7 separate regions of the Homo sapiens genome follow, and all the other regions are linked to region 5. The links are contacts of gene promoters, found by promoter capture Hi-C in blood cells and fetal thymus (Javierre and others, 2016). All regions are on one chromosome and are shown on one strand. Each heading gives the region's core, a stretch centred on a gene start or on the middle of the fragment in contact. The rest is flanking DNA. Distances are from core to core; before and after follow the strand shown. Region 1 has its middle 13 kb from the start of EGFL6. Region 2 has its middle 30 kb from the start of EGFL6. Region 3 holds the start of LOC107985656 (a long non-coding RNA gene). Region 4 overlaps OFD1 (OFD1 centriole and centriolar satellite protein). Region 5 holds the start of TLR8 (toll like receptor 8). Region 6 has its middle 6.4 kb from the start of RAB9A. Region 7 overlaps RAB9A (RAB9A, member RAS oncogene family).

Region 1 (3,501 bases), core at 735-3,234, 650 kb after region 5:
GAGGCCTCATTATACTGCTCTACATTTGCAAATGTTTAAAACTTTCCAAAATAAAAATTAAAAATATAAACCTGGTCTTGCTTTGAGCTATCAAGTTTTCAGAAACAGAGCAGTCCTCTCTCAAAGTTCCTTTTCAAATGTTCCTTATATAACACTTTCTATTCGCTATGCCACAGTCCAAGTGCAGGCAGATCGGGGACCTGGTGCCAGCTACTCCAGGACTTATACAAGAGAGAGCTTTTCTGGTTTTTTTCAGGACTCCTTAAAAAATAGCCCAGGTTCTTCAAACCCAGAGCATCTCTGACACGAGGGCTGCATGCTTTGAATTATACCATCCAGATCAGTCCAAGGAGATCTTTTTACAAAAGGTTTATATCTCCAAGAGACCTCAAGACACTCGCTGGGAATCCTGGAAATTCCTTGGCACTGCAGCAGGGTTTCCAGCTCTGCCTGCCATATTTAGAGCACTAGCATTGAGATCCCTAGAGGAGGGGTTGTCCTCTTTAAATACCATTGCACCTGTTCACAGATGGTGTCTGTCCTTTGGAGATGAGAGGAAGAAGGTACAGAGAGAAATGCAGAGGTAAGCCATGGAACTGTAATCTATTTAGATTAAAAAAAATAACTCTATAAGGAGGAAATTAACAACACAAGTTACACTCGATGACAAATTGGTAGTAGGAATGTCTTCCCTCCTGACCATAAACATACTTTTCTCTATGATAACCTGAAAACTAACATAATTTGTATTCATCGGGCTGACAGGGTTTGATCCTGATTTCCTTGCTTACCAGCAAAGTGACTTGGGCAAGTTTCTGGATCTCTCTAGACTTCCGTTTCCTGATGGGGGAATGGGGATGATAATAGTTCCTATGTCATAGGCTGATATGATGACTAAATGCAAAAGTGTGTGCCAAGGGCTTGGGTGAGGAAAGTCACTTGAACTTCCAGCGGACAGGATGTACACATCTATAGATAAAAGTGATTTTGCATTGCTATAGTCACCTATAACTTGAAGAGTTGTAAAATAGTTCAAAGGCAATGAGAGGCTAGAGTCAGAAAACCAAGAAGAGTGTGATCTAAACAATGCATTGCTTTTCATTGAAACACAAATGTTTCCCTACATCACCATATGATAAACATTTTTTGACTGAATTTTCTCATTGGCATGTTTGTGAGTGTTGCAGATCTTACGTAGCTTCAGAATAAAGCCTTATTATAGAACACAAGAGGCAAAACAGGACATGTCTTTTTAATAAGCTTTTTTAATGTTAGAAAGTGTTAGCAAAATTCTTGCAATAAACACTGACTTTAGCTGGGTGTGGTGGCTCATGCCTGTAATCCCAACACTTTGGAAGGCCGAGGCAGGAGGATTGTTTGAGTCCAGGAGCTTGAGACCAGCCTGGGCAACATAGCGAAACCTCATCTCTACAAAAAAATACAAAAATTAGCCAGGTGTGGTAGTGTGTACCTGTAGTTCCAGCTACTTGAGAAGCTGAGGTGAGAGGATCGCTTGAGCTCAGGAGTTCAAGGTTGCAGTGAATCATGATTGCACCACTGCACTCTAGTGTGGGTGACAGAGTGAGACCTTGTCTTATAATTCATCATTTCTCATGCCCATAACCTTACTAATAAGAATGGAAACCAGAGTTCTCAGTTTTAGAAGAAATTTGAGTTGGACAGAAAGGGAAAGGCACCAGAAGGGAATCATGGCATAATACCATGGATGGCAGGCTTTGACCCACCTCTTTTAAAAGTGGTGCCTGTGATCTATTTTTACCTACACTCAAATGAGAATACAAACTTTCTAAATGTCTTATATCCTAAAATTATTCTCATTAACCCTCTGAGATGAGTGAAGAAATACAACATCAAATGATTCACCTTTACCAAGAATTAGTAGCAGTTTTAGATAAATCACTTGGTTTGTGAGTCCTAGAAGTCCAGCTATATTTGATCTCATAAATCTATGCCTGGGACTCTCATTACAGGAAAATGGATCATGCAAAATTCAGGGTGATGAGATCAGACCTGGGCTACACTTCAATAGTATTGTTGACATCTAGGTGACACCCATGGCAGGTTTAGGTGAGGTCTTTAGTTCAATTCATTAAGAATGATAGGGAACAGGAGATTCTTAACTTAGCTCTTTCAAACTGGAAGTAAAATTAAACAATACAGAGCAACTACTGTAAAGACATCATTTTTTTTCCCTCTTTTAAGGAGTAGGATATCCTATGCTGCTTTATCACCAAAGTTCACACTTGTATTATTTTTTCACATTTCCTGATGTTGAATGATCCCTTGAGCATTTGGGACTTAGTAACATGAGGGGACCTCAAAAAGTTCCTGGAAATACTGAATTAAAAGATAAAAATAAAAATAGAAACTTCATTTCTCAACGTAAACTCCATCAAGTTCAAGACACTTTTGTAATTGATGATACCAGCAGTTTAGTTCATCCCTAAAGAATTGAGGGTCTTGGGAATTTAAGCATATCAATGCAGTCTTTTTACATGATTAACTGAGGAAAAATGGGCACCCTTTAAAGATTGTTTAAAATTGGGAAACAAAAAGAAGTCAGAAGGAGAGAGTCAGGACTATAAGGTGGACAGCTAATGATTTCCCATCAAAACTCTTACAAAATTGCCCTTGTTTGATGAAAAGAATGAGAAGGAGCATTGTTGTGGTGGAGAAGGACTCTCTGGTAAAGCTTCCCCAGGAATTTTTCTGCTAAAGCTTTGCCTAAGTTCCTCAAAACACTCCCATAATAAGCAGATGCTATCGTTTCTTGGCCCTCCAAAAAGTCAAGTAAAATGCCTTGAGCATTCCCAAAAACTGTTGCTATAATCTTTGTTCTTGACCCATCCACTTTTGCTTTAACTGGACCACTTCCACCTCTTGGTAGCCATTGCTTTGATTGTGCTTTGTCTTTGGCATGGCAGTGGGAAAGTCATGTTTCATTTTCCATTACAATTCTTTGAAGAAAATTTCAGGATCTTGATCCCATTTGTTTAAAATTTCCTTTGAAAGCTCTGCTCTTGTCTGCAGTTGATGTGGGTGCAATGATTTTGGCACCCACTGAGTGTAAAGTTTACTCAACTTTAATTTTTTAGTCAAAATTGTGTCAGCTGAACCAATTGAGATGTCTATGTTGTTAGCTATTGCTTCTGCTGTTAATCGTCGGTCCTCTTCAATTAGGGCATGAACAAGGTGAATTTTTTCCTCACAAATTGATGTGGATGATCTTCAGCTGCAGGCTTCATCTTCAACGTCACCTCGTTCCTTCTTAAAACAAATTGTTCACTTGTAAACTGCTGATTTCTTTGGGGCATTGTCCCCATAAACTTTTCATTAAACATCAATGATTTCACCATTCTTCCACCCAAGCTTAACCTTTTTTTTTTTTTTTTTTTTTTTGGAGACAGGGTTTCACTCTGTCACCCAGGCTGGAGTGCAGTGGAGCAATCAGAGCAATCTCAGCTCACTGCAGCCTCGATC
Region 2 (3,301 bases), core at 209-2,708, 630 kb after region 5:
AACTCAGTTTTTATTACCAGATATATCATGATCACTTCCAACAAAAAAAATTATGAGATAAGCTAAAGGCAAGGAAAAAATACAGTCTAAAGAGACAAAACAAGCATCAGTATCAGACTTAGATGTGATTCAGATTTTGAAATTATCAGATAAGAAACTTAAAACAAATATTATTGATATATTAAGGGCTCTGAACTTGGCCAGGCCCAGTGGCTCATGCCTGTAATCCCAGCACTTTGGGAGGCTGAGGCGGGAGGATTGCTAGAGCCTAGGAGTTCCAGACCAGCTTGGACAACACAGTGAACCCTTGTCTCTACAAAAAAAAATCAAAAAATTAAAAATAGCCACATGTGGCGGCACACACCTGTGGTCCCAGCTACACAGGAGGCTGAGGTGGGAGACCACTTAAGCCCAGGAGATCAAGGCTGCAGTGAGCCGTGTTCATGCCACTGCACTCCAGCCTACCTGACAGAGAGAGACTCTATCTCAAACAAACAAAAAGTAAGTGAAGAAATTAGGTAAAGAAAAATAAGAAGCAGCCAAGAGTGAACTACTCAACATGCATACTGTGGCCAAAATTTAGGCTCTAAGCCTTCAAGCAGCCAACTCAAAGAGAGAGACATAGGCAGTTACTTGATTCAGCATCCAGAAAGCATAAACTAATTCTTAGTTCTTTTCTCCCCTAGTCCTAGCAAAGAGGATGGGGCAAAAGTGCCTAACAAGGACCTCATCAACACCCCTGTGAAAAATAAACAAGTTTGATCCGTTTGTTCTTCTAGTAAGGCCAATGCAAATATGCAACTCCGAAAGTTTCGAAAGACAATTCTTAGGCAAAGAGCTTGGAAATCAATATATCTTTGTCCAGTTAAACAGCTTCCTTTTTATTTTTTTTCTATACAGGGTCTCACTGTGTTGCCCAGGCTGAAGTGCAATGGCATGATCACAGCTCACTGCAGCCTCTACCTCCTAGGCTCAAGTGACCCTCCCATCTCAGCCTCCTGAGTAGCTGGGACCACAGGTGCCTGCCACCAAGCCTGGCTAATTTATTATTATTTTTTATTTTTGTAGATACACAGTCTCCCTATGTTGCCCAGGCTGATCTGGAACTCCTGGGCTTAAGTGATCCTCCCACCTGCACCTCCCAAAGTGGTGAGATTACAGGCATGAGCCATTGTGCCTGGCCTAAACAGCTTTCTGATAGATTGTTTAGTACAAGGATCAATTGTAAAGCTGTGATTCTTGGTCTAGACAGGGAAATGAGGGGGCCTATTTGAATCAACTGGAAAGCTTCTTCAAACTATGTAAGTACCACTCCCTTCCTTTTGACAGGTTTCCATGAAGCGTGTCCCCAAATGTATTACCATGACTGTGTAGTGAATCCCTTACGTGTGCTAGGGTGAGGACCTCATGGAAAATGGAGGTGTTCATGAAAGGGTAACCATGTGCAGACATAAGAGCCACCTAATTCCAAATTCATCTGTCTAGACTCCTTCCTAAACCTCAGAATTAATGACCCTTGGATGAAGCCATAACATACGTACTCTTAACTGCCTTATCAGTTGATTCTGATGCAAAACACCTTTGAGCAGTGCTAACCTAGAGCAATGGATGGACCATATACTATTTGGCCAAGCTTCTCTAAATATTTTTCTCAAGAAAATGTTTCAAATAGAAGAAATTCCAAATTATACTCCCTAGTGAGCATACCTGGAGTGCCACTCCGTCCTTCCAGTTAATCAGTCCTGTGATACATTTAACAGCTAGATTGCCCCAACATGGCAGATGTGGCTGCTGATTCAACTAGGGGAAACCAACAAAAAGGCGTTCCTAGCAGACAGCAGCCTGTCTCTTCTGCCTACCCATGTGTCTCTGGACACAGCTAAAATATTCTGTTGGTCAGAATCCAGATTCCATCTGTGTTTTTTAGGTCCTTGACCTTTTGAGGCACCCTGTGTTTTGAGAAGCTGCTTTTATACATCTAAGCCCTGCTCAAAATGCCTTTGAGATAATATGAAATTGTATATCTGGTGCCCAAAACAAATTGGACACATAAAAGTCTCAGTGCTTACTGAAGTGATTTAAATTAAACTCATATATAATAACAATATATAAATAATAATGATAGAATGATACTCACTCTTATTAGATAATATATATGGGAGACTACCCACCTGGCCCAGGTAATTTGGCATGCCTTAAGATTCCTGAACTTACCCAAAATAATACAATTTCATTTCTTAAATATAAAAGCAGGACAAGAAGAAAAAGAAAAAGAAAGGTAGAACAACGCACAACCCTTAGGTAGCTGTGGAGGCGACAAAACAACATTGGCTTGGGTTGCTCCTGACAGATGCGTGGAAAAGGTTCAAAAATTTTTCTACTTTACAGCCTGGCCCAGCCTCTGAGTGTCCCAGAGATATTTTCATTAGAGCTCTTCTTCCCTTGTTGCTACCTAGTTATTAAAACATTATTCCCGAGCCAGGCAGTGGCATGTGTCTATAGTCCCAGCTACTAAGGAGGCTGAGGATCCCTTGAGGCTAGGAGTTCAAGGCCAGCCTGGGGAACATGTGGGACCTTGTCTCTAAAAAAGGGGGGAAAAAAAGGAATAAAAAAGAAAACATTGTTCCTGGAAATGGTAGTGGGACGTAACAGGGAGATAAGGACTTAAGGGGAACCAGCTGATGGCGGGTCTGGCTGAGGGGAATATGATCAGGAACTGGTTTCTCTCCACCAAAGATGAGCAGCACCCAACTTGTAATGGCTTGTGGGAAATGCAAAGATGCCTCTGAGGGCAACACTCAGTCACAGCCAGTATAAATAACCCTGACTTTCATTGCAAAACAGTTTTCACTTAAGAAAGATATACTTTTATTTTATTTGACTTTCTGTTTGAGCTGCATAGCTCAGGAATTACTCGGGATTAGGGCGGTATATTTTTTTCTTCCTCTAAGGGCTTATAAGGAAATCTAAGGGCCTACATCTTTTGCTGGGAGGTTATCTCTGTTAATATTTGGGATAGCTAATGCCTGTTGGCAGAGGAGGTGGGAAGAGATGTGTTTCATTTTTCCTTTCAAGAGGCAGGCCCAGGATTCTGGTGCTACTTACAATAAAAATTCCTTTGATGAAAGATGGGTGGAAGGACATTCCATTCCATTCAATTTCCTATTCCTATTTCAAAGAAAATAACCCGATTTGCAGGAAAAAAGAGAGCATGTATAGTGATATGGTTCATGAGAAGTCATTTGAAGTTCCTATATTTACTATCTTAAAGACTGCTGGAAGAAATAACCATAAAAGAGTC
Region 3 (3,160 bases), core at 338-2,837, 760 kb after region 5:
TCGGGGACAAAATGAAGAATGTGTTTAAACTCCAACATTGGGTGACTAGATCTTCATTCTTTTCCCCTCTCTTTTCTCATTTATAGGTCTCCCTTCAACCACAAAAGTCACCCTGGAACTCATCCCGCAGTTAGAATTTTGTTTGGAGCCCTCTTGCTTAGTTGAAGGAGTTTCGTAGTTGTTTTTTGTTTTTGTTTTTGTTTTTGTTTTTTCCCCCTGTGAACAGGTTTTTCGGGGGTATGTAAACTCTAGGATGTTTAGTTTCTGATGTCAGGAGTCTTCATGTTCTCAAGGACAAGTGTCCTTGAGATGGACATTAATGGTCATTAGTCTGTCAGAGGAAGCCCATCACTTTAGCCTTTGAATGTAGTAACAGACGTTTATCTAATAAATGAATTGAAGATAAAATTACCTCTTTGAGGCCTTTGCAAACAGTGTTTAACCAGTTTATATAATTGTTTGACTACAACACGCCTTCTATGTGATTATGGCTGATTTTTTTTCCTTAAAAAACTCATGGAATGTTCACCGTTTTATAGTTTTAAAAAGTTTACTTTGGCGGTCTCTACAAACCTACCATTTCACTTTCTCACCAGTTCTTTTCTCCTAACTCTCTTCCTTTGTTGGAGCTCTGAAGGCCTAACTGTGTGTACACTTTACCTGCCTGACAGAATTCTCCAAAACATGCATAAAAGTAAAATATGTTCGTATTTTCAAATAATTTGGAAGAGTCGGCTCAATGCCATCAAGTGTAAAATCTATTTTGATATACTTGCTCTCCGTGTCTTCCCAGGGCTGCTTTTTGTGATGCAACATGTTTAGTCCTTAACTTGCAAGGTCATCTAAAACTTGAAGTTTCACAAAGTGTGGTTTCATATGACTTGGAATAATCTGAAAAACTATTCAGTGGTTACGAAAGAGCACAGCACATAAAAACCAAATTTGATTAGTTCAAGTCGGTGTTTATGTTTTGCTTTGGGGGTTTGTGTGTATGTGTGTAGTTTTTATTTATATTGGAATTTGGCAAACTAAATGTTCAGACAAATAAAAGTAATTAAAATGGAAATTTCCTTACTCTCCAAAATATAAAAACCTTCATGGTCTGGCCGGGTGCGGTGGCTCATGCTTGTAATCCCAGCATTTTGGGAGGCCGAGGCGGGCGGATTGCCTGAGGTCAGGAGTTCAAGACCAGCCTGGCCAATATGGTGAAACCCCGTCTCTACTAAAAATACAAAAATTAGCTGTGCATGATGGCGGGTGCCTGTAATCCCAGCTACTCGGGAGGCTGAGGCCGGAGAATCACTTGAACCCAGAAGGCAGAGGTTGCGGTGAGCCAAGATCACGCCATTGCATTCCAGCCTGGGCAACGAGAGAAACTCCACCTCAAGCAAACAAACAAAAAAACCAATCTGCGTGGTCTTCCTCATTTCATTTCATCTTTATTCGTGAGTTTTGCAACTTGAGATAGGAAAATAGTAATCTGTGTGTTTTTCTTTTGGTTAATGAGACAGCATTACATTTTCTGCCTATAGGTAATTCTTTCAGATCCTATGTCCTTTCCCCTAAAAGGAAAGGACTTTCTTTAAAATTGACTGCAGGGTAAAGATTTTTTTTTTTTTTTTTTTTTTTTTTTTTTTTTTTTTTTTTTTAGACAGGTTCTCACTCTGTCATCAAGGCTGGAGTGCAGTGGCGCCATCTCAGCTCACTGCAGCCTCAACCTCCCGGGCTCAAGCAATCCTCCAACCTCAGCATCCCCACTCCCTTGAGTAGCTGGGACTGCAGGCACGTGCCACCATGCCCAGCTAATTTTTGTATTTTTTGTAGAGACAGGGTTTCTTCATGTTGCCAGGCTGGTTTCAAACTCCTGGGCTCAAGCGATCCTCCCAAAGTGTTCGGCCTCCCAAAGTGCTGGTATTATAGGCATGAGTTACCGTGCCTGGCCAAGACTCTTTAATTTAAAATCGCTTTTTCAGAAACAGCAAATGGAAGACCCTGAGACAGGAGACTGCCTGATACACGCAAGTTCCAGCAAGAGTCCACGGCAGCTAAGTCACAGTGAGCAAGGGGAACAAGGATGAGAGATGCAGTCAAAGAGGCCATCGTGAGGGCTCTTGTCGGTCGGCCATGGTAAGGATTTGGGGGCGTTTCTTAAAACATGATGGGAAGCCACTGAAGCTGGGGAGTTTGTGGTGATGAGATTTAACACCCTTTAGGAAGGATCACTCTGGCTGTTATATTGAATTAGAAGGGAAGGAAGCAAGGATGCATGCAGGGACAACAGGTGACCCTTGGCAGTGATCCAAATGTCAAATAACTGGCTTCAAGCAAGAGTACACAGAGTCTGGGCTCCCCGAATCCTTATAGTCAGCAAAGTCCTTGACAACTTTGCAAATGGATATTTCATAAAATACACTAAATCCCAAGTTCCCTACCCATGGCCCATAATAAACAATAATAGACAATGCAGAAATTCAGCATTGGACAAGTATATCCTATACTCGGGTTGCCATGATTACTGGGAGTCCCTGCATAGGGCATAAACACCAGTTGTTATACCTGAATGTAGGAGCGCTCTCTTGACTCTTGATGGATTTTCCCACATCACTCTCCTTTTGTCTGTGTTACTTTTCTGAGATAAAAAGTTGGATACAATTGGAGCTCTGTCTCTTCCCTGAGCACTTCCTGTGATGAGAGGCTCCTTTCATTCGCCACTACCATTCTAAATACCAGTCAGGAAGCCTGCAGCTGGCAGTGCTCCACTGCTTTGGCAAGGGCTGGGCCTTCATCTTCTGGGTCAGATTGCTTTGTTATTTATAACTTCCCAGTAAATGCAAAATATTTTACTAAAGTAGTTATTTTTGTATCTCTCAGATACTGTAAGTACCTAGGCTTTCAGAAGAGCCCCACAATCAGAAGGGAGACCAGATGACAACCTCATATAGTCCCATTTGCATTATTATTTAAAACTGGGATTCCTGGCCAGACGTGGTAGCTCACATCTGTAATCCCAACACTTTGAGAGGCCAAGGTGGGAGGACCACTTGAGCCCAGGAGTTGGAGATCAGTCTGAACCCCGTCTCTACAAAAAATATAGAAATTAGCCAGGCGTGGTGGTGTGTGCCTGTAGTGTCAGCTACCCAGGAGACTGAGGTGGAAGGAT
Region 4 (3,488 bases), core at 907-3,406, 850 kb after region 5:
AGTGTAGATAGAGCTTTGGGTCCTGGAGTCCTGCCCACATCCTGTCTGTGTCTCTAACTGCTTGTGTGTCGCTAGGTAAGTTCTGTGACTGCAGGTTCCTGAGCTGTAAACTAGGATGTTTTCCACATTATAGGGTTGTTGAGGGAATTCAGTAAGCTAACTTATGTGCCTAGTTCATAGCAGGTGGCCATTACTATTAGTTTCTACATCAGCCTGTTATCTCCTTCCATCAGCAGCAGGTAAACAAAATTCCTGTCATTACATTGTTATCTTACAGATTAAAACAAAATGAGGTACATTTTTCACATATCATTGCTTCTTTACTTTTCTGTTCATTCGTGTGCTTGCTGTCTGAAGGATGAAGCTGGAACTTTAGGTACTTACAACATATTTTGTATATGAAATTTATTTTAGCAACTGTGACTTATGTGAGAACTTTGTAGGCTTTTTACTCAAATATGAGATATACTAAGAAAAGGGAAGCACTTCACAACATTTTACAGAATCTTTTTTCCTTTCTTTCCCTTTTTTTTTTTTTTTTTTTTTTGAGACAGAGTCTTGTTCTTTCGCCCAGGCTGGAGTGCAGTGGTGTGATCTTGGCTCACTGCAACCAACCTCCACCTCCCGGGTTCAAGTGATTCTCATGTCTCAGCTCCCAAGTAGCTGGGATTTCAGCCATGTGCCACCACACCCAGCTAATTGTTGTATTTTTAGTAGAGATGGGGTTTCACCATGTTGCCCAGGGTGGTCTCGAACTCCTGAGCTCAAGCAATCCTCTTGCCTCAGCCTCCCAAAGTGCTGCGATTACGGGCGTGAGCCACCATGCTCAGCCATTTTTATCTTACCTTTCATATTTAAAAAATATATATTGCTATGATGTGTGATTATTGTTGGGTTCTTGGTTGCCTCTGGAAAATGGGATGATAATCTTAGAAGGACTTGCTTCATGGGATGCGGCCTATAAAAGTTCTGCCCCAACTGTAGGGCGGAAGATAATTTTCGTTATTGTAGTTAGAGTCTTATTGTAGAGAATCAGACTTCTGTCTAGTGACCTTAATTAAATTGTGACACCATGCTTAAAGGAGCCTGCCAGCTTTTACTTTTGCAGTACTGTAAAGTCATTATTCAAATGTAAATTTTCCTTTTTGAATTTTAGCTTGAATTAGAGTCTGTCAAAGCCCAGTCTTTGGCAATAACAAAACAAAACCATATGCTGAATGAAAAGGTTAAAGAGATGAGTGATTATTCACTACTAAAAGAAGAGAAACTGGAGCTTCTGGCACAAAATAAATTACTTAAACAACAACTGGAAGAGAGTAGAAATGAAAACCTGCGTCTCCTAAACCGTATGTATTTTTCTTTTCTTCTGACTTGCGTGTTTTAGTAATTCGCATTAGGTCAGTATTATAAAACTATGCTTTGTACTTGTATAAGGTAGGGGGCTTACATTGGGAAGATTTATAAAATTAAGATTCTTGGATTAAACTCTGCAAACCTGCCTATAGGTGGTATCAAAGCTTCCCTTGCCCTCTGACTGCTGATTGGGTTTGGCCAGTGGGGACACCAGCCTCTACATACAGTGGCCCTAGGCTGGCCACTGTGCCTCATGGCCAAGTGAGGCCATAGTGCCTGCGATTACCTCTTCCAAGTGCTCTGCACCACCACCCTGTCTCTAGTGCTGAGAATTTCTCCCTCCTCTGATTCCCCAGGCCCAAGGAGCGCTAACAGTATGGCCCTGTTACTAGCCCACCCAGGGAACTCCACCATCCTTTGTGCATACCCTGAATAAGTCAACCTTTATTAAAGGGTTCTTAGATGACCTTGACCGTGAGAGCCATCTGCCTTCTGCCTGGATCCCAACTGCTGCTGTCAGATGCCCAGATCATATTGGATCCCAGGGCTGTCATCAACAGGTAGACCAGATAGAGAGCTCCTTCTGTGCACAGTAGAGGAGAGAAACAGGCTTTCAGGTTAATTTGAGAATTTGAAAGAGTTCTTTTACTTGGAGTAGGACTCCAAGGGTAATAAAGTTTGCATTAACATGCACTAAATTCTTTTGTTGTGAAATTTGAGAGTCAGGATTGCTCTGAGCTCATTTAATAGAATTATTATCATATTTATTGAGTCAGTACAAAGCAAAGAACACTTTAAAACCCCTTTAACTGTTTTTGTTAAGTTAAATAAGAAAACTTAAGGTTGGTAATGACTAGGATTTTTTTTTTTTTTTTACCTTCTTAGGCCTAGCTCAGCCGGCTCCTGAACTTGCAGTCTTTCAGAAAGAACTACGGAAAGCCGAAAAGGCTATAGTGGTTGAGCATGAGGAGTTCGAAAGCTGCAGGCAAGCTCTGCACAAACAACTGCAAGACGAAGTGAGTATTGCTCTTCTTCAGTTCTAGTGTGATACCAGTACACTTCATAGTTACGTAAACTTGGCACAAGTCACACTAGTGTAAATCAGATTTATTTTAACATCAAACATTACTCCCCCAAATATGCTAAAGGTATCCTTTCTCATCTGAGAAAATTCTGCAGTGATAACGTGACTTTATATTCGTAATAGTAATAAAATGGAGAAGAAAGCAAACTCACCTAAACATAAAATTTTCTGAGTGCCTGATGGTGCCCACTGTTATCTCTCGATTCTCACCCTGATAAGTATTACAAACATTCACTGTCTTCTGATTTCTGCCTGCATGCCCTAGAGTTCTTTGATATGACTGAAAAAGATGGTGAAGAACTTGTTTGTGTGTTCTGCTTGTGTTTTTTTTTAATAGGGACCCTGTTGTTTACTGTCATAAAGCTTCTTGGAATTGGCAGAACAAAAAGAGTACAAACATGATAAGAGAACTTTTCCTTTTGAAGCAAGCTGTGATTTGTTTTACATTGATTTCTTTTCCTATTCTGAATCTTTTCAGATTGAGCATTCTGCACAGCTGAAGGCCCAGATTCTAGGTTACAAAGCTTCTGTAAAGAGTTTAACTACTCAGGTTGCCGATTTAAAATTGCAACTGAAGCAAACTCAGACAGGTTAGAGACGTTTTAACCCATAAATATTTTTGTATGTATAAAGCTTCTGGTGTCTGTGAAAATGTAATGATCATAATTTATTGAATATTAATTATTGTTTTAGGGGAAAAGCCATAGAAATATGTGTCATCTTAGAAGTAAAACTCCCTATCCATTTTGGTAATACCATCTGGATCATCAGCAAAAGTATTTTGCTTCATAGGTGCCTCATGGCTTGGGAGAGTCTCATGCCCCAATAGGAAAGGCGTGGTGGTAACATAGAAGTCCCCATATTCATTATAGGATTTCCTTTTTTATTTGTTACCCCAATGTTAACACCAATTCAGTAGTTTTACGGATTCCTTGATAGATATATAAATATACAGGACAAGCAGGGTGGTTTAGCAAAAAGAATATTGCCTTCAGAATCAGAACTGTTCTTCTTTTGGACCCGTTTTGAAGTTGTTTGACCTTGGGCATGT
Region 5 (3,420 bases), core at 593-3,092:
CCAGGGTATGTGAGTCTCGCTTTTCTAGAAAGCTGACAAACTCTCCAGTTCCAAGGATCCTTGCTCAGTCAACGGCTGGAAGTCATTTTTACTTCGCTGTTTTTTGTTTGTTTGTTTGTTTGTTTTTTTAGACAAAGTCTCATTCTGTCACCCAGGCTAGAGTGCAGTGGCACTATCATGGCTCACTGCAATCTCCACCTCCTGGGCTCAAGCGATCCTCCCACCTCAGCCACCCGAGTAACTGGGACTACAGGTGCACACCACCATGCCTGGCTAATTTTTGTATTTTTTTAGAGACAAGGTTTTGCCATGTTGCCCGGGTTGGTCTCAAACCCCTGAGCACAAGTGATCCTCCTGCCTCGGCCTCTACAAAGTGCTGGAATTACAGGTGTGAGCCACTGCACTCGATCCATTCTTACTTACTTTCTTTACTTTATTTCCAAGCAAATGTTTGGAGGGAAACCAAGAGACTTGGATGCGGCCAGCCGAGGCCTTTGGGTTTACAATCACAAATGTTTTTGGTTTGCCCATGAAGGCCCAGGCTGCACTCTCTGATGTCACAGGAATCACCTCTCAAACCATGCACCAGGTCTTGAATTCCCTTAGGGTGTGATCTTTAGAGGTCCATCTAGGTATACCCACCCAAGCCATTCTTTGACTGCTGACAGGCCTTCCTTCATAACAAGGTGTTCCACAGTCCATTTATATATGGATGTCATCTCTGCCCACCCTGCTGCCAATTTGGTTTTCTCCCACTCCTGGGGTGTAAGGCAAGATGAAACATATCACATCCCGTTCTAAACTTTATTCTTGTGGCCAGGGGTCAGCAAACTTTTTCTGTAAAGGGCCAGATGGCAAATATCTTAGGTTTTACAGGCCAAGAAGCAAATTTGGCATATTATGTAGCTACTTATATAGTAAAATAAAAATTTCCACAATTATGTAATTGATGAAACTCAAAATGTAATAATAATAATCGAAGGCAGTTTTTTTGTAGTATAGGTTTAATAATGAGAAGAATGGAATCATTTTTGGAGGTGCTAACATTCTGCTTGGTTGGAATTTAAAGTTAGTGTTCTGTATCAGCAAATCCATTGCCAATGTTCATCTAAAAATGTTTTCACTTCTGGGCCGGATTTCGTTCAAAGGCTGCAGTTTGCTGACCTCTGCTCTTGGTTACACCTTTTGAGGCCCTTGCTCTCCGAGCATAAAATGGAATCCATTTATCAGACTAAATCGGGAAGATTAAATTTTCCAGCCTCACGAATGCTCAGCCATTGACTCACTCGTTCATACAATGAACACTCATTGAGCTTATACTACATGCCAGGTGCTGGAGGAGGCATGGGGCGCCCAGGAGAAAGATGCTCGCTTTGCGGCCACAGCCCAGTGGGAGGGAGACCCATACCTACCGGTGCTGTCTCAGAAACTTGTGGAACAAAGATGAAGCAATGTTCATGTTATTCGCCTACATCTGTGAATTACACAAGGAAGACGAGTTTGAGAAATCCGAAGTTCAGTACAAATTTATGGTAACTTTTTTAAAAAAGAATACACTGAAGTTTTCTTAGTGAATGGAATAATGTTCCCTTTTTCTCCCCTGTACACACAAATACACAAAAACTAACAAAAATACGTCGTGTGTGTCTGATTTGGGTTGTATTTAAATCATTTCATAAATGACTTTTTCCCATAACTTCAGTTTCAAAGTTTTAAAGCACAGTCAATTAATGATTTGGCAACAGCTAAGAAATCACAAGTTCCCTTCTTTTCATGTAAACTTCTGTAAAACACACGCTACGTTCTGCTGATGGTAAATAGAGCCATTTCAGGAAGTTAGCCAGTTTCTCTTCTCGGCCACCTCCTGCATAGAGGGTACCATTCTGCGCTGCTGCAAGTTACGGAATGAAAAATTAGAACAACAGAAACATGGTAAGCCACTTCTATTTCTTTAGCAAAGCTTTCCAACAGAATATGGGGTTTCTGACCCAGAAATCTGGGTTGGTGGCAAATGGTGTGAGCCTAGAAAGTAATAAATGGGCAAATAAGGATAAAAATTAAAGATCGAAACAACTGTAAATGCAGGTAAAGCGGCTTGCTATGATCTTTAATTTGTGCACACGTTAGTATAAAGGAATTAGAGAGTAAATTTTGAAAATCAAATGCAGTGATGATCTTACTAATTTGGACAGGAAAATAAGAAAATTTCAAGTTAGAAATTGAACTGGAAATATTACTTACTGGCCCTACCAGAGACAATATCCTCTTCCAGAACAACAGGGTTGGAAGAGAAGGTGAGGGAAATATTCTTCCTTTGCTATTTCTGTAGAAAAGGACAAACTCTCTTCCTTCACATACATAGGTCAATTGCTAGATCCTAGTGAAGCCTGAGCTTAACCTACTGTTGGAGGCTTAAAGTTCGACATTAATTGCTACTTTTCTTGGTCAGAGTTTTAAATAATTAGGTTGGTACAAAAAACTGTGATTACTTTTCCACCAACCTAATAACATGCTACAATTTCTGTAATTATTATTTTACACTGTCAAGACATAGCAGGTGGTCCGTTTTTGTTATTGTCAAGAACTGTCAGACTAAAAATGAACTTTACACTTCTTTTTAAATGATACATTTTCTAGAAAATTCAATGAGGTTTAAGAGCAATTGAAAAGTCTGATTTCAAGAGAGTCTCATCCAAAATGTACTATATATTTTTCCCCAAAGTCCTTGGAGTTAATTTTGACAACAATTTAAAGTACACTTAAGTCTTTTGAAGTTAATGGGTCTGCCACCCAGGTTGGAGTGCAGTGGCGTGATCTCAGCTCACTGCAACCTCCGCCTCCCGGGTTCAAGCGATTCTCCTGCCTCAACCTCCCAAGTAGCTGGGACTACAGGTGTGTGCCACCACGCCTGGCTAATTTTTGTATTTTTAGTAGAGACGGGGTTTCTCCATGTTGGCCAGGCTGGTCTCGAACTCCTGACCTCAGGTGATCCGCCTGTCTCAGCCTCCCAAAGTGCTGGGATTACAGGCATGAGCCACCGCGCCCGGCCTGAAGTTAATTTTTATACCCACCTAATGTTCATTATGGATCTTGAAGGTAAATTAATTCTGCACTAAAATTTTACAATGCTTTACAAAATGACTGTAGGTGGCCCATATGGAATTCGGTCAACTGGGCCAATGACACATATGGGATTGCAGTTGAAATTATCCAATTCCTACTTGATATTTGTAAGCTGCTGTGATAGCCAGTATAATTGTACTGTAAGAATGTGGTAAATAGCCGGGGCCCGGTGGCTCACGCCTATAATCCCAGCACTTTGGGAAGCCGACGTGGGCGGATCACTTGAGGTCAGTAGGTAGAGACCAGCCCGGTCAACACGGCAAAACCTCGTCTCTACTAAAAATACAAAAATTAGCC
Region 6 (3,454 bases), core at 768-3,267, 780 kb after region 5:
CACCAATGGTGGTCACTAGATACTAGAGGGTACCACTACCTGTGCCAGAATGAACCCTGAACTAATGCAGCATCTCTTTGTTGCTTGCCCAAGACTCAGCTCTTCAAAGAGAGTATCTGATTGGCTAGTCTTGGGTCTCGTTTCTGTATTTTTGTTGTCAGGGTACTGGAAGAGCAAGTGTCTCTCCATTGGGACTTTTATAATGAAAAGACTCACAAGATAGTTGGTTTCTTAAGTGTCGGAAGGACTTTCAGATGCTAACCAAACCGCATCCCCTACAAAAGACAAATATCCCCCACAAACTTAGAAGATAAGCAAACTTGACTGGGCGCAGTGGCTCACTCTTATAATCCCAGCGCTTTGGGAGGCCGAGGTGGGCAGATCACCTGATGTCAGGAGTTCAAGACCAGCCTGGCCAACATGGTGAAACTCTGTCTCTACTAAAAATACAAAAATTAACCAGACGTGGTGGTGCACGCCTGTAATCCCAGCTACTCGGGAGGCTGAAGCGGGAGAATCGCTTGAACCCTGGAGGCGGACGTTGCAGTGAGCCGAGATCGTGCCACAGCACTCTGGCCTGGGCAACAGAGTCAGACTCCATCTAAAAAAAAAAAAAAAAGAAAGAAGAAAGAAAAAAGAAAAGAAAAAGAAGATAAGCAAACTTTACAGCTCTCTTCTGCATTTCCATTATGGGTGTTGATATGGTTTGGCTGTGTCCCCACGTAAATCTCATCTTGAATTGTAGCTCCCATAATCCCCACATGTCGTGGGGGGTAATTGAATCGTGGGGGTGGGTTTTTCCCATGACAGTGAGTAAGTCGTAGGAGGTCTGATGGTTGTATAAAGGGCAGTTCCCCCGCACACTCTCTCTTGCCTGCCCCCACATAAGACATGCCTTCGCTCCTCCTTTGCTTTCTGCGATGATTGTGAGGCCTCCCCAGCCAAGTGGAACTGTGAGTTCATTAAATCTCTTTTTCTTTATAAATTACCAAGTCTCAGGTATGTCTTTATTAGCAGCGTAAGAACAGACTAATACAGAGGTATGACATAAGCAGTGTAGTATAAATGATTGCATTCTAATTGAAAGTATATGTGATGGATGGACATATTCTAGTCCAGTGCTGTCTGATTTTCTGTGCTGATGCACATGCTCTATATCTACTCCATCAGTTGGGTAGCCACTAGCCACATGTGCCTAAATAGAGCAGTGCAAATGAGGCTAATATGACTTAGGAATTGAATTCCGAATGCTATCTCATTTTAATTGGTTTACATTGAAATTTAGATAGCCACACGTGCGTCTTGGCTACCATATTGAACAGCACAATTCTAGTCCATTCAGGTACCACACCTAATTTTCTCCATGAAGGTCTTCTCTCTTTTTGTGTTAGATTTATTCCTAAGTATTTTATAATTTTGTTATTGAAGTTAATATAGTTTTAAATCGATGTTTTGGCCGGGTACGGTGGCTCACGCCTGTAATCCCAGCACTTTGGGAGGCCAAGGCGGGTGGATCACGAGGTCAGGAGATCATGACCATCCTGGCTAACACGGTGAAACCCCGTCTCTACTAAAAATACAAAACATTAGCAGGGCGTGGTAGTGGGCGCCTGTAGTCCCAGCTACTTGGGAGGCTGAGGCAGGAGAATAGCATGAACCTGGGAGGTGGAGCTTGCAGTGAGCCGAGACTGCACCGCTGCACTCCAGCCTGGACGACAGAGTGAGACTCTGTCTATAAAAAAAAAAAATGTGTTTGAGTTCATTGTAGATTCTGGATATTAGCCCTTTGTCAGATGAGTAGGTTAGAATAGCGATCATTAAAAAGTCAGGAAACAACAAGTGCTGGAGAGGATGTGGAGAAATAGGAACACTTTTACACTGTTGGTGGGACTGTAAACTAGTTCAACCATTGTGGAAGTCAGTGTGGCGATTCCTCAGGGATCTAGAACTAGAAATACCATTTGACCCAGCCATCCCATTACTGGGTATATACCCAAAGGACTATAGATCATGCTGCTTTAAAGACACATGCACACGTATGTTTATTGCGGCACTACTCACAATAGCAAAGACTTGGAACCAACCCAAATGTCCAACAATGATAGACTGGATTAAGAAAATGTGGCACATATACACCATGGAATACTATGCAGCCATAAAAAATGATGAGTTCATGTCCTTTGTAGGGACATGGATGAAATTGGAAATCATCATTCTCAGTAAACTATCGCAAGAACAAAAAACCAAACACTGCATATTCTCACTCATAGGTGGGAATTGAACAATGAGATCACATGGCCACAGGAAGGGGAACATCACACTCTGGGGACTGTTGTAGGGTGGGGGAAGGGGGGAGGGATAGCATTGGGAGATATACCTAATGCTAGATGACGAGTTAGTGGGTGCAGCACACCAGCATGGCACATGTATACATATGTAACTAACCAGCACATTGTGCACATGTACCCTAAAACTTAAAGTATAATAATAATTTTAAAAAAAAAGTGGGCAAAAGTTAACAAAAACAAAAAAAACAAAAAAAAACAAAAAAACAATCGATGTTTCCTGTGTTTTGTTGGTTATATAAAGGGAACTTATTTTTGTTAACCACTTTTTATCTAGCCACCTTGTTAAACCCTTTCAATGATAGATTTTCTATAGTGTGATTTAGATTTTCTAATCATATTGTCTGTGTTTAATAAGTTTTGTTTCTCCCTTTGCAGTCCTCACACGTTTTTGCTTTTATTGCTGTGTGCTAGGACCTCCCATGCAATGTTGAAGAGAGTGGTTGGAGCAGACATTCTTATCTTTTTTTTTTTTTCTATTTTGAAGGGCATACGTAATGGATTTTAACCATTAAGAATGATGTTTGGTATAGGTTTTTAGTAGATATTCCTTATGAGGTTAGGGAAGTCCCTTCTATTCCTGGTTTGCTAAGAGATTACTTATCACAAATGGGTGTTGAATTTAATTGAATGAATTTTTTCTTCACCTATTGAGTTGACTGCATGTTGTTTTCCCTTTGAACTGTTCATGTTAAACTACCCTTGCATTCCTGAGGTACATCCAAATTAGTCATTACAAATGAAATTCTATTATTTTCTCTTATTAGTCACTTTTTCCTCCCTCTTTGCATATCTAACACTTTATTGCATGCGGGACATAGTATATAAATGAAACAGAAATGGTCCACATAATGTCTTCCACCAGTGAGGGTTCACCCTTTCCACTTTTAGGTAGATAGAGTGAGGGATTTATCAAATTTAATCAGGGATTTCGTTTAGCCAGAGCCTAGATGTAGCTGTGACTAGGATCCAGCACCAGCTTGGATTATTTATACTCCTGTGGATGGAGTGAGGGTAGGGGAGGTGAGAGGATAAGAAGCTGGTTATGTGAGAGTGATGGCGGTCTCAGCTCTTAAACCAAAAAGTAAAGAAAGCTGCAAATGAGCACT
Region 7 (3,342 bases), core at 526-3,025, 790 kb after region 5:
CTTAATTCTTTATTTATTTTTCTTGGTAATTTCTTGCTGTAGAGCTGGTACCCATTAGACATAATGACTTTCCTTGACTTGCTTCTTGCTCATAAATTTCTGTAAGACAATCAGGAAGTTTTTAGAAACAAACAGTGGAACCAATTAGGCTGTTAAGTGAGACACGCCTAAATTAAGCTATGAGGAAATAAATACAGCTCCAGCAAAAATAGAAATAATTTTCAGATTATCCATGCTTTTGTTTCCCTGGTTTTCTTTGAACCTCATTTCCTCAAGCTATGAAGTGAAATGAAGTGGTAAGTACACCTCTAAGTAGGACATTCAGGGTGAATCCAAAGGAACTTGTGAATTTGACCAAAAAAAAAAAAAAAATCTGTTCCTAAATTTAAACCAGGAGTGATAAATTCATTTTAAGTTTTTGGAGGGGTTACAGAGTATGTGTTTTAAAATCTCAAGTTTTGAGAAGGCAGTTTACAAATGATGCCTGCTCTCCCTTTGGCAGCTTATTAAGGAATGTAGTCGTTTTTCAGCATTTGCCAGCTCCCTGTCGCAGTCAGTCAATAGTACTTATTTTAAAGTGGGATTCTCATTGGGATTGCAAGTAAGAATCAATGTTTTTGTTCCTACCCACACATTTTAATAGACCTCAAAAATAGAATGCGGGGAGAACTGATAGAGAAACAAAGAATTTTAGGTACAGAAAGCACAAATAGAATAATAATAGAATAACAAGAATAAAAGAGGAAGTAATATACTCTTCGTTCTCAATGTAGCATTTATTTGCACCTCACCAAATGTAGAGCATTGTACGAGAAGTGGCAGAACAAAAAAGGGACAAGTGAATGGATGCAATTAGGTGTTGTGTGTCCCTCCCAGGGAGTTGACATTGTAATTAGGAAACAGACACATACACAACTGAAGGTGATTAGAGCATAAGTAAATGAGAGCTGTAAAGAGGTGGAAATGATGAGAGCAAAGAAAAGAGAAAGATTAGGTTGCTGGGGCGGTCCTGGCTTCCTACATGAGGTAATCTGGACTAGGCTTCTGATGACTAAGATTGTCATAGCTGTCGAAGTAGGGAGGGGCCTCCCAGGCCAAAGTAACAGCCCGAGCAAAGATATGGACAGAAAATGCCAGTGATAGGTGCGGGGATGGTGAGTAGTAGGGATATAATTGGGACAGGCTTGTAACTGACATTGAATAGCTCTTTGAATGCCATGCTCAAAATCCTGTATAATAAAAATAATAAATAAATGAATTTAGTTATCTGTCAGAATGGAGACAATTAGATCCAGGACCAATAAAAAAAGTCTAACTTCAGTCACATACACAGTCATATTAGAGATTTATATTCTTTTTTTTTGGAGACAGAGTCTCACTCTGTCACCCAGGCTGGAGTGCAATGGCACAATCTCGGCTCACTGCAACCTCTGCCTCTCCAACAATCCTCCTGCCTCAGCCTCCCAAGTAGCTGGAACTACAAGCAGGCACCACCACACCTGGCTAATTTGTGTATTTTTTGTAGAGATGGGGTTTCACCATGTTGCCCAGGCTGGTTCCTGAACTCTTGGGCTCAAGTGATCTGCCCATCTCGGCTTCCCAAAGTGCTGGGATTACAGGCATGAGCCACCGTGCGTGGCCAGCAGATTTAAATTCTTGATGCTTGGACCTTGAGGCTTTCTATTCTTCCCCTTGGTTTATTGTAGGATGTGGCTTTGGAAGCCAGCAAGGGGTTGGAGAAGGCCAGAGAAAAGGGTACTACTGATAAACTATTCATGAACAATTGATAGTATAAGATAAAAGTACATAATGGAAAAGTTGGGAAAATAGTGTTATAAGAAGGAAAGGGTTAACATAAAATGTTCTTTTGTCTTTTGAATTTTGCCGTATCTGCTGGCAATGTGGTTCATTTGTTTTCCTGCCAGTGACCTGCTTATCCAACTTTACATTCGGATTAGTGTATGACACATACAGCATATGTTGGTACCGGCACGTGGTGTGGGAATCCTAAAGTAGTGTCTGTTGTACATGTAAATGATTTATTTAAAGGGATGCTGCTGAAGGGACAAGGAGAACATTTGTAGCTCTAGTAGTGTAAATCTAATTCTAGGGTCATATTTTTAATTCTCAGGAGATTTGCACATATATTTTCACATACAGTAAAAATTTTTTTTTTTTTCAAGGTAGGGTCTCACTCTGTCACCCAGGCTGGAGTGCAGTGATGTGATCACAGCTCACTGCAGCCTTGACCTCCCCAGGCTCAGGTGATCTTTCTACCTCAGCCTTCTGAGTAGCTGGGACTACAGGCATGCGCCACCATGTCCAGCTAATTTTTGTATTTTTTGTAGAGATGAAGTTTTACCATGTAGCCCAGGCTGGTCTCAAACTCCTGAGCTCAAGTGATCTGCCTGCCTCTGCCTCCCGTAGTGTTGGGTTTACAGGCGTGAGCCATGGCGCCTGGCCGAATTCACCCTTTTAAAGTATACAGTTGATTGGTGTTTATAGTATATTCACAGAGTTGTACAACCATCACTACTATCTAATTCCAGAATATTTTTATTACCCCCCCAAAAAAACCCCATACCCATTAGCAGTCCCTCCTCCTTTACCTGCCACTGCCCCCCGCCCCATCCGTTGACAACCATGAATCTACCATCTCCATATTTGCCTATTCTGAACATTTTATATAAATGGAATCATACAATAGGTAGCCTTTTGTTCTGACTTCCTTCACTTAGCATAATGTTTTTGAGGTTTATCTACGTTACAACATTGCATGGATGTATGATGCATTTTATTTATCCATTCATTAATTGATGGACATTGTCTTTCTTTTTAGGGGAAGGTGGTTTGATAATAGTATGGGTATGCATTTTTTTGGTGCAATCTAAAACATTGACAACTCAGAAATGTATGGACATTTCTGTAATTGGATAGTACACATCCATGTAATGTGGGTTAAGAGAGCATGTTTCACTTTTATTAGACATAGTAGGCATGTCAATTACAGAATTCCTTATGGTAAATGGTAGAGGCACGCACAGGATGGTTAAGAGTGTCGAGGAAGGGGGTTCAGTTGGAGATGTCCAGTAGGTGTTCGGGAGGAGGTGAGGTCTAGCTGCATCCACACGGCTGACTAGGAGTTAGACAGGTAAAGGGCCAGGGATTTGAATGTGAACAAGGTAAAACACGAAGTCATATAGTAAATATCTTACTGGAGGATCAAGTGTGAGGTATAACCACCTCAATTTTCATTCGTAAGCCCAGCTGACACTGTTAGTGGAGAGGGATCATAGCAGCATCCATCCCAGCTTGTCCAAGGCCTTCCTCCCCACCTCACCC

Evidence for each region. Contacts are between HindIII fragments. The CHiCAGO score rates a contact against its expected background, and 5 or more counts as called.
Region 1: a fragment that was not itself captured here is called in contact with the fragment with the promoter of TLR8 in region 5 in 1 of 17 cell types (total CD8 T cells); the score reaches 5.0 in total CD8 T cells.
Region 2: a fragment that was not itself captured here is called in contact with the fragment with the promoter of TLR8 in region 5 in 1 of 17 cell types (non-activated CD4 T cells); the score reaches 5.2 in non-activated CD4 T cells.
Region 3: a fragment that was not itself captured here is called in contact with the fragment with the promoter of TLR8 in region 5 in 3 of 17 cell types (M1 macrophages, monocytes and M0 macrophages); the score reaches 6.7 in M1 macrophages.
Region 4: a fragment that was not itself captured here is called in contact with the fragment with the promoter of TLR8 in region 5 in 2 of 17 cell types (M0 macrophages and monocytes); the score reaches 6.8 in M0 macrophages.
Region 6: a fragment that was not itself captured here is called in contact with the fragment with the promoter of TLR8 in region 5 in 1 of 17 cell types (M0 macrophages); the score reaches 6.1 in M0 macrophages.
Region 7: a contact is called between a fragment that was not itself captured here and the fragment with the promoter of TLR8 in region 5, in 1 of 17 cell types (M0 macrophages). The highest score is 5.5, in M0 macrophages.

The regions. Positions count from the first base shown.
Region 1 is chrX:13,554,832-13,558,332 of GRCh38, forward strand. No RefSeq gene overlaps it. Among named protein-coding and RNA genes, the nearest start is that of EGFL6, 13 kb to the right of the region's middle. The HindIII fragment of the contact is 1,453 bases long and covers 1,259-2,711 here.
Region 2 is chrX:13,537,846-13,541,146 of GRCh38, forward strand. No RefSeq gene overlaps it. Among named protein-coding and RNA genes, the nearest start is that of EGFL6, 30 kb to the right of the region's middle. The HindIII fragment of the contact is 346 bases long and covers 1,286-1,631 here.
Region 3 is chrX:13,664,344-13,667,503 of GRCh38, forward strand. TCEANC (transcription elongation factor A N-terminal and central domain containing) reads left to right here. Exons shown (of 5, transcript NM_001297563.2): 5 at 1-1,066. LOC107985656 (a long non-coding RNA gene) reads left to right here and starts at 1,732. Exons shown (of 3, transcript XR_002958816.2): 1 at 1,732-2,127. The HindIII fragment of the contact is 3,880 bases long and covers 1-3,160 here.
Region 4 is chrX:13,755,422-13,758,909 of GRCh38, forward strand. It overlaps OFD1 (OFD1 centriole and centriolar satellite protein), which reads left to right. Exons shown (of 23, transcript NM_003611.3): 13 at 1,157-1,346; 14 at 2,239-2,369; 15 at 2,916-3,027. Among named protein-coding and RNA genes, the nearest start is that of OFD1, 22 kb to the left of the region's middle. RefSeq lists a silencer at 57-126. The HindIII fragment of the contact is 1,283 bases long and covers 1,516-2,798 here.
Region 5 is chrX:12,904,778-12,908,197 of GRCh38, forward strand. It overlaps TLR8 (toll like receptor 8), which reads left to right and starts at 1,843. Exons shown (of 2, transcript NM_138636.5): 1 at 1,843-1,932. The coding sequence starts at 1,930. It overlaps TLR8-AS1 (TLR8 antisense RNA 1), which reads right to left. Exons shown (of 5, transcript NR_030727.1): 4 at 1,413-1,474. The HindIII fragment of the contact is 3,594 bases long and covers 1-1,958 here.
Region 6 is chrX:13,680,978-13,684,431 of GRCh38, forward strand. No RefSeq gene overlaps it. Among named protein-coding and RNA genes, the nearest start is that of RAB9A, 6.4 kb to the right of the region's middle. The HindIII fragment of the contact is 4,496 bases long and covers 1-3,454 here.
Region 7 is chrX:13,698,609-13,701,950 of GRCh38, forward strand. All of the region lies in intron 1 of RAB9A (RAB9A, member RAS oncogene family), which reads left to right. Among named protein-coding and RNA genes, the nearest start is that of RAB9A, 11 kb to the left of the region's middle. The HindIII fragment of the contact is 5,121 bases long and covers 1-3,342 here.